Linked DNA regions of Homo sapiens: region 2 is linked to region 1. Evidence: promoter capture Hi-C in 16 types of primary human blood cells and fetal thymus (Javierre and others, 2016). All regions are on one chromosome and are shown on one strand. The core of a region is centred on a gene start or on the middle of the fragment in contact, and the rest is flanking DNA. Distances in the headings are between cores, read along the strand shown.

What was found. Contacts are between HindIII fragments. The CHiCAGO score rates a contact against its expected background, and 5 or more counts as called.
Region 2: a contact is called between a fragment that was not itself captured here and the fragment with the promoter of CLEC18A in region 1, in 1 of 17 cell types (endothelial precursors). The highest score is 6.8, in endothelial precursors.

The regions. Positions count from the first base shown.
Region 1 is chr16:69,948,411-69,954,957 of GRCh38, reverse strand. CLEC18A (C-type lectin domain family 18 member A) reads right to left here and starts at 3,624. Exons shown (of 12, transcript NM_001370523.4): 1 at 3,468-3,624; 2 at 2,832-2,923; 3 at 385-624. The coding sequence starts at 3,591. RefSeq lists enhancers at 1,851-2,464, 3,691-4,303, 4,304-4,917. The HindIII fragment of the contact is 42,237 bases long and covers 1-6,547 here.
Region 2 is chr16:69,775,354-69,781,900 of GRCh38, reverse strand. All of the region lies in intron 1 of WWP2 (WW domain containing E3 ubiquitin protein ligase 2), which reads right to left. Among named protein-coding and RNA genes, the nearest start is that of WWP2, 16 kb to the right of the region's middle. The HindIII fragment of the contact is 1,389 bases long and covers 3,532-4,920 here.

The DNA of each region.
Region 1 (6,547 bases), core at 2,375-4,874:
GAGGCTGAGGTGGGTGGATCACTTGAGGCCAGGAGTTCAAGACCAACCTGGCCAACATGGTAAAACCCCATCTCTACTAAAAGTATAAAGCCATTAGCCAGGCCTGGTGGCACATGCCTGTAGTCCCAGCTAGTCAGGAGGCTGAAGTACAAGAATCACTTGAGCCCAGGAGGCGGAGGTTGCAGTGAGCCGAGATCACGCCACTGCACTCTAGCCTGGGCAACAGAGCAAGACTCCGTATCAAAAAAAAAAAAAAGTAAAACTAAACCAATTGGAGGAAAAGGAATCCCAACATTTAGGACAAACTGTAGCCTCTTCTGAGATGGCCCAGTGGAAGTCTGTATCTGGGAGCTGGCACACTGGCCTCACCTGCAGCACACTCACCTGCGTGTAGTGGGTGCAGGTGGCGTTGCGAGCACACTCTCCTGCCGCGTGGCTGTACCGCTGCCCCTCTGCAAACCATAGGCTGACCACTTCGACAAAGGACACCAAGCCCGCGGGTAGCAGCTGCATGTTCCAGCCCACTTGCAGGGTGCGCCACAGGCCGGACGCCAGGCTCGGGGTTGGGGTTCCACAGAGGGCTGCCCTGGCTTGAGCCAGCTGGGCCAGGCTGTCACTCCAGTCCTGGGGGCAGCACAAACAGACATCTGTGGGAGGCCTTTGACTGCTGGGCCAGGCCTCAAAGATTCAACTCCCCTGCCATCTCTGAGCATCCACCGGGTGCCAGGTCAGGTGGCAAAGAGAGCACTGGATGAGGAGTCCTGCTGGAGGAAGCACTGGTGTTGTCTGATGTCCCTCCAGGAGGAGCCCAGCTCCTCTCACGACTGAGCCTCCATCTCCAAATCCTGTCGTGGGCATCCTTCGGCCCTGCCCAGGCAATGGGACCCGCTCCTGCTGTCTTTCTCCCATCTGGTCATGTGAGCAGTGCCCACGCGTTGCAGACTGGTTCTGTGTTTGGGCCCTGGCCATTGTCAGAAAGGCTCCACTGCTCCCACCCGGCCATGCTGCCCTCCTGTGATGCAAAAAGCCCTACAGCCACGCCTCTCTGCCCTAGTCTCCTGCCCCCAGGAGCCCGGCCTCATATGCTCCCCACCACGCACAGCTGACCCCGCCCCCTCCCTCTTCTTTTTTTTTTTTTTTTTTTTGAGACAGTCTCACCCTGTCGCCCAGGCTGGAGTGCAGTGGAGAAATCCCGGCTTACTGCAACCTCCGCCTCCCAGGTTCAAGCAATTCTCCTGCCTCAGCCTCCCAAGCAGCTGGGATTACAGCCATGTGACACCACGCCTGGCTAATTTTTGTATTTTTAGTAGAGACGGGGTTTCACTGTTGGCCATTGCTGGTCTCAAACTGCTGACCTTAGGTGATCTGCTTGTGTCAGCCTCCCAGAGTGCTGGGATTACAGGTGTGAGCCACCGTGCCCAGCCCCCTCCCTCTTCTTAAACAAGTGGGCCTGGCAATCACCACCCCTGGGTGACTTGGTGCAGTCCCCTGATCTCCCGAGACTCCCTGAGCTCATCTGTAAACGGAGCAGGGAGGTGCCTGCAGGATAGGACTCACAAGCACTGAGTGGATGCAGGGAGGGGGGCCCCTCGGGGCTGCACCCCAAGCCAACTTCATCCTGCACTAATGTCCATCGGGGTTTTACCTCTGATGAAGGCTGGGGCCAGGAGCTGGGGGCTCCCCGGGGTCCCTCAGCAGCCCTCCACCCCCACAAGACCTTCAGTCTCCACTGTGTCCAAAGAGGGGGTGCCCTGGAGCCCTAGAGGCCCGGAGGGTGCTCGGGGCCGGGCCACGAGGGAGGCTGAGCCATGGAGCTCCATTTGCACCTTTACGGAAATGAAGTTTTCTAGGACTTTGACAAAAGGGCCCTGGAAAGGGTGCCAGCTGCCAGCCAACGACCACCGCAGCCCCTCCTGGGGTCCCAGGCAGGAGTACCCAACCACGGAGGTCACAGCTGGGAGCACCCCTGGTTGCCCAGGGTCTGAGCCTGAGGAGAGGCAGAGCCACTCAGGGCTGGGAATCGGGGAGAAGCGACCCCCCGCATTTAGCCACCCCACCCCCACCTCCTGGGAAACTGACCCTAGAGTGCTCAAGGTCGCCACTGTGGCCGCCTGCCTTGGAGGAGTTCATGGGAAGCAGCCATGGGGAACCCTCCCGCCCCCACCACCCTGCCCTGGCTCCCTGGCCTGCTAACATGGGCTGGGGCTGCTGGGGTCCCAGACAAGGGGGGGCAGCGTTTCTGAGCCTCCAGATGACAGTCCCAACCCCGCAGCCCCAGCCGGGCTGGTGGGGAATTCTATACCCCCGACCCCCGGCCCCTGCTGAAAATGTGGAAAATGTGGACGAGTGAGTGAGCAGAGAACATGGGCAAGGCCCGTCCTCGTGGCTCAGATAAGCTCAGGAGGAGGCGCTGGGTCCTTGCCGCACAGAAGCCCCTCCCCAGCCCAGCACGACCTTCTCCCTCCCTGGCCCGGCCGCCCATCCTGCAGGGCTCCTCGTGAAGCTCCCCTTCCCTGGAGGAGGGGATCCGGCTCCTCCTGTGGCTCCTGGTCTCTGTGACAACAAGATGCCAGGGAAGGCCCAAGGTCCTGCCCTTCAGGCGAGTGGGAGCCAAGGGGCCCGACCTCCTGAACTGAGGGTGGGGGGTTAAGAAATTGCAGAGACCCCCAGCAACCAGGGCCTCCGTCCCTCAGGGACAAGGTGGCTGGCTGTGCCTGCCCACCCTGGTCAAGTGGAAGGGCACCTGGACAGGCGTGGCCTCCTGAGCCGCCCTCTGGGGTCCGCGCCTCCGGCCACCCCCCTGGCAGAGCCCAGCTGGGTCGGGTACTCACCAGCCTCCGCATGTCAGCCGCAGGGGGCTGGACCCAGCTGCGCAGGCGGTTGTGCAGGGAGAGGAGCAAGAAACTCTCCTTCCTGTTCAGGGCTGGGGTGGGGAGAGAAGGTCAGGCAGCCCGAGGATGGGGGGACCTGAACCCAACACACGGCAGAATAAGCATGTGTCCCTGCCCTTGGAAAACAAGATGGGAGAGGAGTGTGGTGGGTGCAGGGGACGTGGGGCATAGCAATGGAGCGAGGCTGAGAGAGAGACCAGGTACAGCAGGCGTGGGCTGAGTGCTGGGGTTGGGGTGGCGGGAGGGAACAGCGGTGCGGGCTGGGTGTAGGGGCCAGCCCTGGCTCCCGCAGGCCCCTGTCTGGGGCTCCTCCGGGCCACGGATTTCTCCAGGCCCCAGCCACAGCGCCCCTCGGCGTTCCTCCTTGACCCCAGCCCTGGTCCTCCTTCCTCCTCCTTCCTCCCCAGTCCAGCATCCACCCCTCACCGCCCCCGGGCTGTCCCAGGGCTTCCTCATTAAACCACCCGCACGGCCTGGGGCTCAGGCCTGGGACCGGGCTTCCAGAAGTCTCCTAGCACCCACTCCTCAGAGCTCGTAATGGTGCCTCCACCTACCTCCTCACCAGGTGTCCCTTACCTCCGGCCATCGGAGCCTGCTCCTGCAGCTGGGGTGGCCACACCTCTGCCCAGGCGGTGCCAAGGAGGGCCAGGAGCACAGCCAGGAGATGCCCCCGGCCAGGGGAGGTCTCTGGATGCAGCATGGGTCTGTTGGGCCCGTCAGGCGCTCCGTGCACAGCCTGGCTCAGCCACCCGGCTTGTTTCTCAGGCTGGATGGAGCTATTCACAATCTCCAGGAGTCAGGCTGGGCTGGTGGACAAAAGAGGGAGGCTGGTGAGTGAGTAATCAGTGTGTCCAGACAGCCTCCTGTTGGCGCTGGCATGAAAAGAGACAACTCCGGGGGATGCCTGCCTGCTCCGGCCTCGGCCTGGCCAGCCCGCCCCCGACAGCAGGCAGAGTGGCGTGCACTGACCCGCGGCCCCTGCTAATCATTGTGGGATTATTAGCACCCTTGGGGAGCCCCCAGAGACCCCGCTGATTGGCCCGCGGACATTCCAGTGCTGCAGATTAGTGACCGATGGCCGTGTCCTGGCTGGGACAGTGTCCTCCGAGCCCACTGATGGCTTCCGCTCCCCAGCCCCGGGCCCTGGGAGGAGGACCTCGGCTATGGTCCTTCTGGTGAGCAGGAACTGGGCAAGACCCCAGGGGAGTTCTTTCCTTTCTTGGGAAGCTCGTCCCAACCCCCCAGCCATGAATTAAACATAGGCAAGAGGTAACCGCACACCAGAGGGGTGCAATCTGTGGGCTCAAAGGGGGGTGGGCTGAGGCCGCACCTGCACGAGGAAAAGGGTGCCTTAGGAAAGTCTGTCTGGGCAGGGTCGGGGGCTGGGCCCAGCCCCGGTGCCCACCACCCTCACCCACGTGACTACAGGCCAGGGGGGGAGTGAGGCAGGAGGAGTCAAAGCAGGCGGGGACCAGAGCACGTGATGCCCTGGGCTGACTCCAGTCCTGCTGGGATCACGTCCGCCTCTAGAAAAACAGGCGGCGTAGCAGGTGGGCAGCACGTTGCCATGATGTGCCGTGGCCCGGCCGTGGCTGGCGTGATCCCACCAGAGTGAGCTGGAGCAGATCTGCACCATGGGCCAAGTTTCTCAGAAAATACATGGCTTCCTGCGGGCTGCAACCTAATGCCCACGTTCCTCTCGGGGAAGACCAAAGGTTATTCAACCAGGGCAAAGGACAGCCTTGCAAACCAACTACGTCCTCCTTCTGGAGTTTGTGTGACCCCTGGCCCCTGAGCCCACACCCTCTCGGAGCGGGGTTCCAACTCTGTGGAAGCTCTGCTGAGATGCAGGTAGGGTTGGCTTTCCTGGGGAAACACCAGTGGAATGTGGCTATCGTCATGGATGCCAGGGATGGGGATGAGGCCAGGCATACAGGCCATGAAGGCGGTCTGGAACTGCATGTCCCCCACAATACCTAGGGGCTCAGGAGTTTCTTCTCCCTCAAACAGAAACCCAGCACCCTCAGGGTCACTGCGTGTGGGTCCTAGCAATGCTTAATAGCTACCTGTTTTTTGATGTATTTTTATTTTTATTTTTTAGACAGTTTCACTCTGCCACTCAGGTTGGAGTGTTATAATCTCAGCTCACTGCAGCCTTGACCTCTTGGGCCCAAGTGATCCTCCCACCTCAGCCTCCCAAGGAGCTGGGACCAGGTGTGTGCCACCATGCCTGGCTAATTATTATCATTTTTTTTGGTAGAGACAGGATTTCATCGTCTTGCCCAGGCTGGTCTCCAACTCCTGGGCTCAAGGGATCTTCCCACCTTGGCCTCCCAAAGTGCTGGGGTTGCAGGCATGAGCCACCACACCTGGCCAAGCCACCTGTGTTTATGGAGCTCACAAAGCCTGTTTGCATGTGTGAGTTCAAGTTATTGCCACAAGAACCTGGTGCAGTAGCAGATGGGATGCCCGTCGTGTAGATGAGGAAACGGGCTTAGTGTGTCTAAGGGGCTTGTCCAAGGTCACTCAGCGAGTGCATGGAGCATCCCAGCTAATCCAAGGTCTCTGCCTTCCCATTCCCAACGCTTTAATTCACATCCTGATCTTTCCCAGTGCAGTTTCCACAGCTCTGCTATGCCGGGTGATAAAAGACCCACTTCCTACAATTGGGCTTCCATGGCAAACACGGCCAGTTGACCCATATAGTATGATGCCAGGCACTTGGGACAGGCGGGAGAAAAAGATATTTTGGGGATTAGGGTGGAGCAACTTTTGAAGGGTCCCATGGCCCTGGCTCACTGCAAGAAGAGTCCCAGGCCGGGTGTGATGGCTCATGCCTGTAATCCCAGAACTTTGGGAGGCCAAGGCAGGCGGATCACTTGAGGTCAGGAGCTCGAGACCAGCCTGGCCAACATGGTGAAATCCTGTCTCTACTAAAAATACAAAAATTAGCTGGGCAGGGTGGTGGGTGCCTGTAGTCCCAGCTACTCGGTAGGCTGAGGCAGGAGAATTGCTTGAATCTGGGAGGCGGAGGTTGCAGTGAAGCAAGATGGCACCACTGCACTCCATCCTGGGCAACAGAGCAAGACTCTGTCCCACCCCCGACCCCTCAAAAAAAAAAAAAAAGAGTCCCAGGAGAGCAAGGTTCATGGGCCAGAAGAGAAGCTGAGTGGATAAAAGATTAATGAGACACTGGAAGACCTAGGCTGGAACCGACACGCTGTGTGACCCTGAGGATGGCACTCCCACTCCTGAAACTCAGTATCCAATGGCGTAGAGCTGGGATGACCCCTCTGCTGGGCCCCTAACCAGGGCATTGCAACTTGGTTTCCATGGTACTCCCTCCTGGGTTCAGACTTTTTAGTGGAGCCTGCTCGGTGGCTGGGGTGGGTTTGGAGAATGGGCAGCCTCATTGTTGCAAGGCAGCTTTCCCCAGGTGAGGCTACTACAGGGTTTACATCCACCACCCAGATTGTAGGGTTCACATTTTGCTGTATTTTCTTTATCACCTGTGTCTCTATCTATCCCACCCCTCTCCAGCTCATGCATAGCTGATACCTCTTCTCCCAGTCTGCATTTGAAGGTTATAGCGTTCGAGTCATTTTATCTCTTCCTGAAGCAGCTCCTTTCTTTAAAGCCTTGAAATCTTGTTGATG
Region 2 (6,547 bases), core at 2,977-5,476, 170 kb after region 1:
CAAGAGCAGGTTTGTTATAAAAGCAAGTTCAGCCCCTCACGTTTCTCTCTAGCTCTCCTGCCTTTCCTTCCACTTGGGATGTGGAGTACAAAGGCCCTTGCCAGGATGTGGGCCCTCCACCTTAGACTTCCCAGACTCAAATACAAAGAATAAATCTCTTTTCTTTATAAATTACCTAGTCTCTTTATAAATTATCCCGTTTCTATTATCCAGTTATAGAAACACAAAATGAACTAAGACACCGTCTAACTCAGAGTAAAAGCCAGCGGGCGCCTATAATCCCAGCACTTCGGGAGGCTGAGGCGGGCGGATCACCTTGTGCTCAGGAGTTCAAGACCAGCCTGGGCAACATGGTCAAACTCCATCTCTCCAAAAAAAATACAAAAATTAGCTGAGTGTGATGGCACATGCCTGTGGACCCAGCTAATCAGGACCACAGAGTTGGGAGGATCCCTTGAGCCCAGGAGGTCAAGGCTGCAGTGAGCCAAGATTGTGCCACCGCACTCCAGCCTGGGTGACACAGTGAGACCCTGTTTGAAAAACAAAAACAAAAAAAGAGTAAAAGCCAAAGACCTGCAAATGAACTTTGACGTCCTATGCAATACCTTCCCCCATTTCCACACCCCTCTCTGACCTCATGGCCCACTTCCTGCTCCCCAGTATCCCCCCACCCTCATCATGCTGTGATTACTGCCACACAGGCCTCCTCACTGTTCAACTATCCCTTGAACGTGCAGACAGACTCCCATCTCAGTTCTTTTTTTTTCCTTTTTTAAAGCCAAATTTAGCATTCAGGGGTTGTATACAAACTTTAGTGACACTAATGTTAATAAGTTCTGATAACCCACTACCACAGGACCAACCTGTTTTTTTGAGACAGGGTCTAGCCCTGTCACCCAGGATGGAGTGCAGTGACATGATCATAGCTCACTACAACCTTGACCTCCTGGGTTCCAGTGATCCTTCCGCCTCAGATTCCTGAGTAGCTGGGACTACAGGCATTTGCCACCACATCCAGCTGATTTTTTTCCTTTTTTATTAATTTATGTATTTATTTTTTGTAGAGATAGGATCTCACCATCTTGCCCAGGCCAGTCTTGAACTCCTGGCCTCAGGCAATCCTCCCAGCCCCACCTTCCAAAGTGCTGGGATTACAGGCATGAGCCATTTCACCAGGCCAAAAAGATGATGTTTTGACTCACTTAGACTAAATTTGTCTTGGCAAAGCAGTAAAAAGATCAACTCTCTTTGCTACTCATCAGATTAGAAAGAGATGAGAAGCCTGACAATTAGTGTTGGAGAGAAGTCTCACATGCCTGTGGAGGCAGCGCACATTAGATGGCAGCTGACAACCTCCGGCAGAGTTAAAGACGCGTAATTTTGGACCCACCAGGATTCTACTCCCAGGCATTTGCAGAGGGAGAAATTCTCCAACACACACAGAAGAGGCCATGTTCAAGGATGTTCATCATAGCAGTATTTGTAATAGTAAAAAATTATAAACAACTTAAATACCCATCAATGGGGGAATGGATAAATTGATATATTTCTAAAATGGAATGCTATATAGTACCTGAAATATATGAATTTAATCCACATGTACAAATCCCAAATGATAATGCCAAGAGGGGAAAAAAAAAAAAAAGGCAAGTGGCAGCCTTAGTACGATGTCTTTGGTGTACACTTGAACTTACACAAAACAACTGTATACGTTGTTGTTGTGGACACACAAACGTTTAAAAGTATAAAAGTACGACGGGAAGGAACCACACCAAGTTCAGAACAGAAGTTCCCTCTAGGGTAGGGGAGGAGGGAGCAGGGGAATTGGAGTGGGGAAGAGACCAAAGGAACCTCAACTGTATCTACAACATTTTATCTTTCAAAGAAAAAAGTTCTGGGGCAAATATGGCAAAATGTTCATATTCATTAAATCCAGATGGTGGTTTTTATGACTGTTTGTTATCTTCATCTCTAACCATTTTATATGTTTGATCTCTTTCATAATTGAACAATAATTTTAAGGGGAAGCAAAAGATCGTATCTTGAATAATGCAGGAAAGATTATAAATAATTATAAATTGAGCCTTGGGGCTTTTAGTTAACAGGGGTTAAAGCACTAAACGCTGGAAATCCATTATTTACAGACTTTAAAAATGAAAGAATATTTTAGAAATCTTTACTTCTATTGGGACTCTTTCTTTCCTAAGGCAACTCAACTAATGGTAGTTTTTAAACTATCTTGTTCTCCTGAACTGTAGCAGTTTTGAGCCTTTGGTCCTGACTCTTAGAGAATGGAACTTGAAGCCCATACATGGCCTGTTCAACAGAAGAAAGACCAAACTTTTTGATCTACACTTCAGGGCCGCAAAACTAAAACAATCAGATAAATTCTAAAGAAGGCTCAGAAGGAACAAAGGCAACTGGGAAGGCAGGAGAAACAGGGTAGATAAAACATCACCATGTTTTCTTTCTCCAGTGTCTTTTAAAATTGCAGTCCACTGCTTATATAACAGTAATCCATGTTATTCTATAGAGCTTTGTCTGGAGTTCCAGATCTAATGAGCAAGATACCACCCTGACATTATATAATGTAGGCATTTGGAATTGTAAAACCTTTCCAATTGATGCATAAAGAAAAATAACCGGCCGGGGCCACGCACAGTGGCTCACGCCTGTAATCCCAGCACTTCGGGAGGCCGAGGCAGGTGGATCACCTGAGGTCAGAAGTTTGAGACCAGCCTGGCCAACATGGTGAAACCCCATCTCTACTAAAAATATAACAAATTAGCCGGGTGTGGTGGCGGGCACCTGTAATCCCAGCTGCTTGGGAGGCTGAGGCAGGAGAATTTCTTGAACCTAGGAGGTGGAGGTTGCAGTGAGCCAAGATTGCACCATTGCACTCCAGCCTGGGCAACAGAGCGAGACTCCATCTCAAAAAATAAATAAATAAATAAATAACCGGCCAGGTGTGACAGCTCACACCTGTAATCCCAGCACTTTGGGAGGCTCAGGCATGCGGATCACTTGAGGGCAGGAGTTCAAGACCAGCCTGGCCAACATGGTGAGACCCCCGTCTCTATGAAAAATACAAAAATTAGCGAGGAGTGGTGGCGCAACTATAATCCCAGCTACTCGGGAGGCTGAGGCAGGAGAATTGCTTGAACCCGGGAGGTGGACGTTGCAGTGAGCCGAGATCGCACCACTGCACTCCAGCCTGGGCAACAGAGCGAGACTCTGTCTCAAGAGAAATAACCGTAACTATAGAAAGGAACAGATCCCATCCCCATCAAAGTACTTTCGACCTCTCAGCTTTTGCCTCCCATCTTAGACAAGGTTCCTAATGCGTATTAGGTCCAAATCCCCACTATCCACTACAAGAAGCTTAGGAAACCTGAGGCCCAGACTTCACACTCTGTCTCAGCAACACGAACAGATGACTCCGTACACGTACTCAAGTAATTTCTCCCCTGCTAATAGCCATGGAAAGTAATTGCATCCTAATCACTCCAAAACTCTGAGTGAGCATAAGCTTTGCTGGAAGAGGGAGAAGGGGGTCAATGTTTAAAATATAACTAAAGGTTACCAGATGAACAAAGTATTTCATTATTGAAGAAACTAATGGACTTATTGGGAGGGGGATGGGAAAGTCAAAATGTCCCCCTTTACTAAGTCTGGTAGATCTATTGAAATTTCTCAAAAAAAAAAAAATATATATATATATATATATTTATTTATAGTATGAGTGTGTATGTATATATGTGTGTGTGTGTGTATCTATGTGTATGTATATACATGTGTGTGTGTGTGTGTATATATATATATATATATTTGAGACAGGGTTTCACTCTGTCACCCCAAGCTGGAGTGCAGTGGCACAATCATGGCTCACTGCAGCCTCAACCTCCTGGGCTCAAGCAATCCTCTCACCTCAGCCTTCTAAAAGGCTGGGACTACAGGCACCAGCCACCAGACTCACCTAATTTTTTAAATTTTTTGTACAGATGAAGGGGGTCCCTATGTTGTTCAGGCTGATCTGGAACTCTTGAGCTCAGGCAATCCTCCCACCTCAGCCTCCCAAAGTGATGGGATTACAAGCATGAGCCACCACACTTGGTCTCAAAAATATAAATAACATATTTATATATAATATAAATACAAACAACATATTTCCTCTGAACTTATCCTCTACATAAATCTTGACAAGCATTTTAAAAATAAAATACAAACTAATAGGGTAGAAACTATAAAAGTTGTATACCAAACTATAATAAATAAAAAGATTTTTTTAAAAGAAAATATAGGCCGAGCACGGTGGCTCATGCCTGTAATCCCAACACTTTGGGAGGCTGAGGTGGGTGAATTGCTTGAGGTCAGGAGTTCGAGACCAGCCTCGCCAACAGGGTGAAACCCCATCTCTACTAAAAACACAAAAATTATCTGGTCGTGGTGGCAGGTGCCTGTAATCCCAGTTAATAAGGAGGCTGAGGCAGGAGAATTGCTTGAACCCAGGAGGCAGAGGTTGCAATAAGCCAAGACCGCACCACTGCACTCCAGCCTGGGTGACAGAATGAGACTCCGTTTCAAAAAAAAAGAAAATATAAAAGTATATCACACACAAAGGAAAGTATTATTTCACAAAAAGTTTTACCAAATAAATATACATGTATATATATTAATAGGTGCATATATGATATCTCCATATGTATATTGTATATACACATATGTGTATATCCATATGTGTATTGTATATACACATATGTGTATATATATCCATATGTGTATTGTATATACACATATGTGTATATATATATCCATATACTGTTTTAAAATAAATATACATACATATATATACACACACACACATATACTGTTTTAAGATATAAAATGTATGTCTTACTAAAGGTTGCAGTCAAAAAAGCTTGAGACTACTGGTCTACAACAATCCCATCTAAGGTAGGGTTTTAGATTAAACAAACACTACAGAACCTAATAAGCAAATACTACACTAGGGACTAATTTCATTCAGAGAAATGTCATCAGTTTATTATAATTTTTTTTATTTTTTTTTTTTCGAGATGGAATTTCGCTCTTGTTGCCCAGGCTGGAGTGCAATGGCACAATCTCGGCTCACCACAACCTCCGCCTCCCAGGTTCAAGCAATTCTCCTGCCTCAGCCTCCAGAGTAGCTGGGATTACAGGCATGCACCACCACGCCCAGCTAATGTTTTGTATTTTTAGTAGAGACGGGGTTTCTCCATGTTAAGGCTGGTCTCGAACACCTGACCTCAGGTGATCCGCCCACCTTGGCCTCCCAAAGTGCTGGGATTACAGGCGTAAGCCACTGCGCCCGGCCTATTATCATTATAAGTTAAGAAACTTCCCACATCTAGGTAACAATCTCTAGAGCTTAGATAAGAGGCATTCATTCATTTGACAAATATTTATTGAGCATCTATTATGTACTCTGCACTGGTTTTGGTGCTAGTGGTATACTGCTGAATAAAACAGAAGAAAAAATCCTTCTTTACAAGATTATCCTGGTAAAGAGTCAAGAAAGATTCCCTCCTAGCTCTAGTTGTGGGAAGTAACCATAGTGAAATAGGCCCAGAGCAATGGCCTACTCTCCAGGGAAGAAGACTTTACCAGAGCCTTATCCTACCTGGTGGAAGAGAAGTCCCCTGACTCCAGCCCTCTTTAGCCTTTCTGTTTCATCTAAGGGGAGAAAAACAGTTAAATATGAGTGACAGTCATAGCCTGGGACACAGGCCCACTAAAAGACTAGGATTTGACCATGAGGCTATAGAATGCTTCCCCTCCCCCATACTTTGCTGTCACACCAACAGGGCTCCAGTACAACAACAGGGAATTAGGGCTGAAAGGCATACACTCTATTTAAGAAGGAGTTTTTAGGGAAAACCAAAGATAACAGGGGAGACAGAAACAAGGACACTAGAGGAATTTGAAGCCTCAGATACCAACAGTTACAGCAATCATTAAACACAGACCAACTCTTAGCCAGATTAACATGAAACACCATACTAACAATACTAATGGACTATTTATCTCATTTCCTATTACCTAATACATCATGTCCAGCTTTCTTTTTTAAACAAGAACTAGGGAGGGGTAAGGAAGAGGAACTGATCAGCAGGAAGAAGGTCAATGTCTAGCTCTCAATGAAAAATTACAAAACACACTAAAAGGCAAGAAGAAACAGTGTGAAAAAGAAATAAAGCAAGCATCAGAACCTGACTCAGATAGGACAGATTTTAGAATAATCAAACAGGTAATGCAAAATAACTATGATTACTAGGTTCAGGGCTCTAATGGAAACAGCAGACAACACATGAGAATAGATGGGCAATGTAAGGAGAGATATAGCAACTATAAGAGTCAACAGAAAATGCTAGAAATCATAAACACTGTAATAGAAGTGAAGAATGCCTTGATGGGCTCATCAGTAGACAGGACATGGCTGATGGGGTTTAAGATACCTTACCCCAAAACATGACACCTTGGCATTTAAGAAAACAGGAAAAGCAGGAAG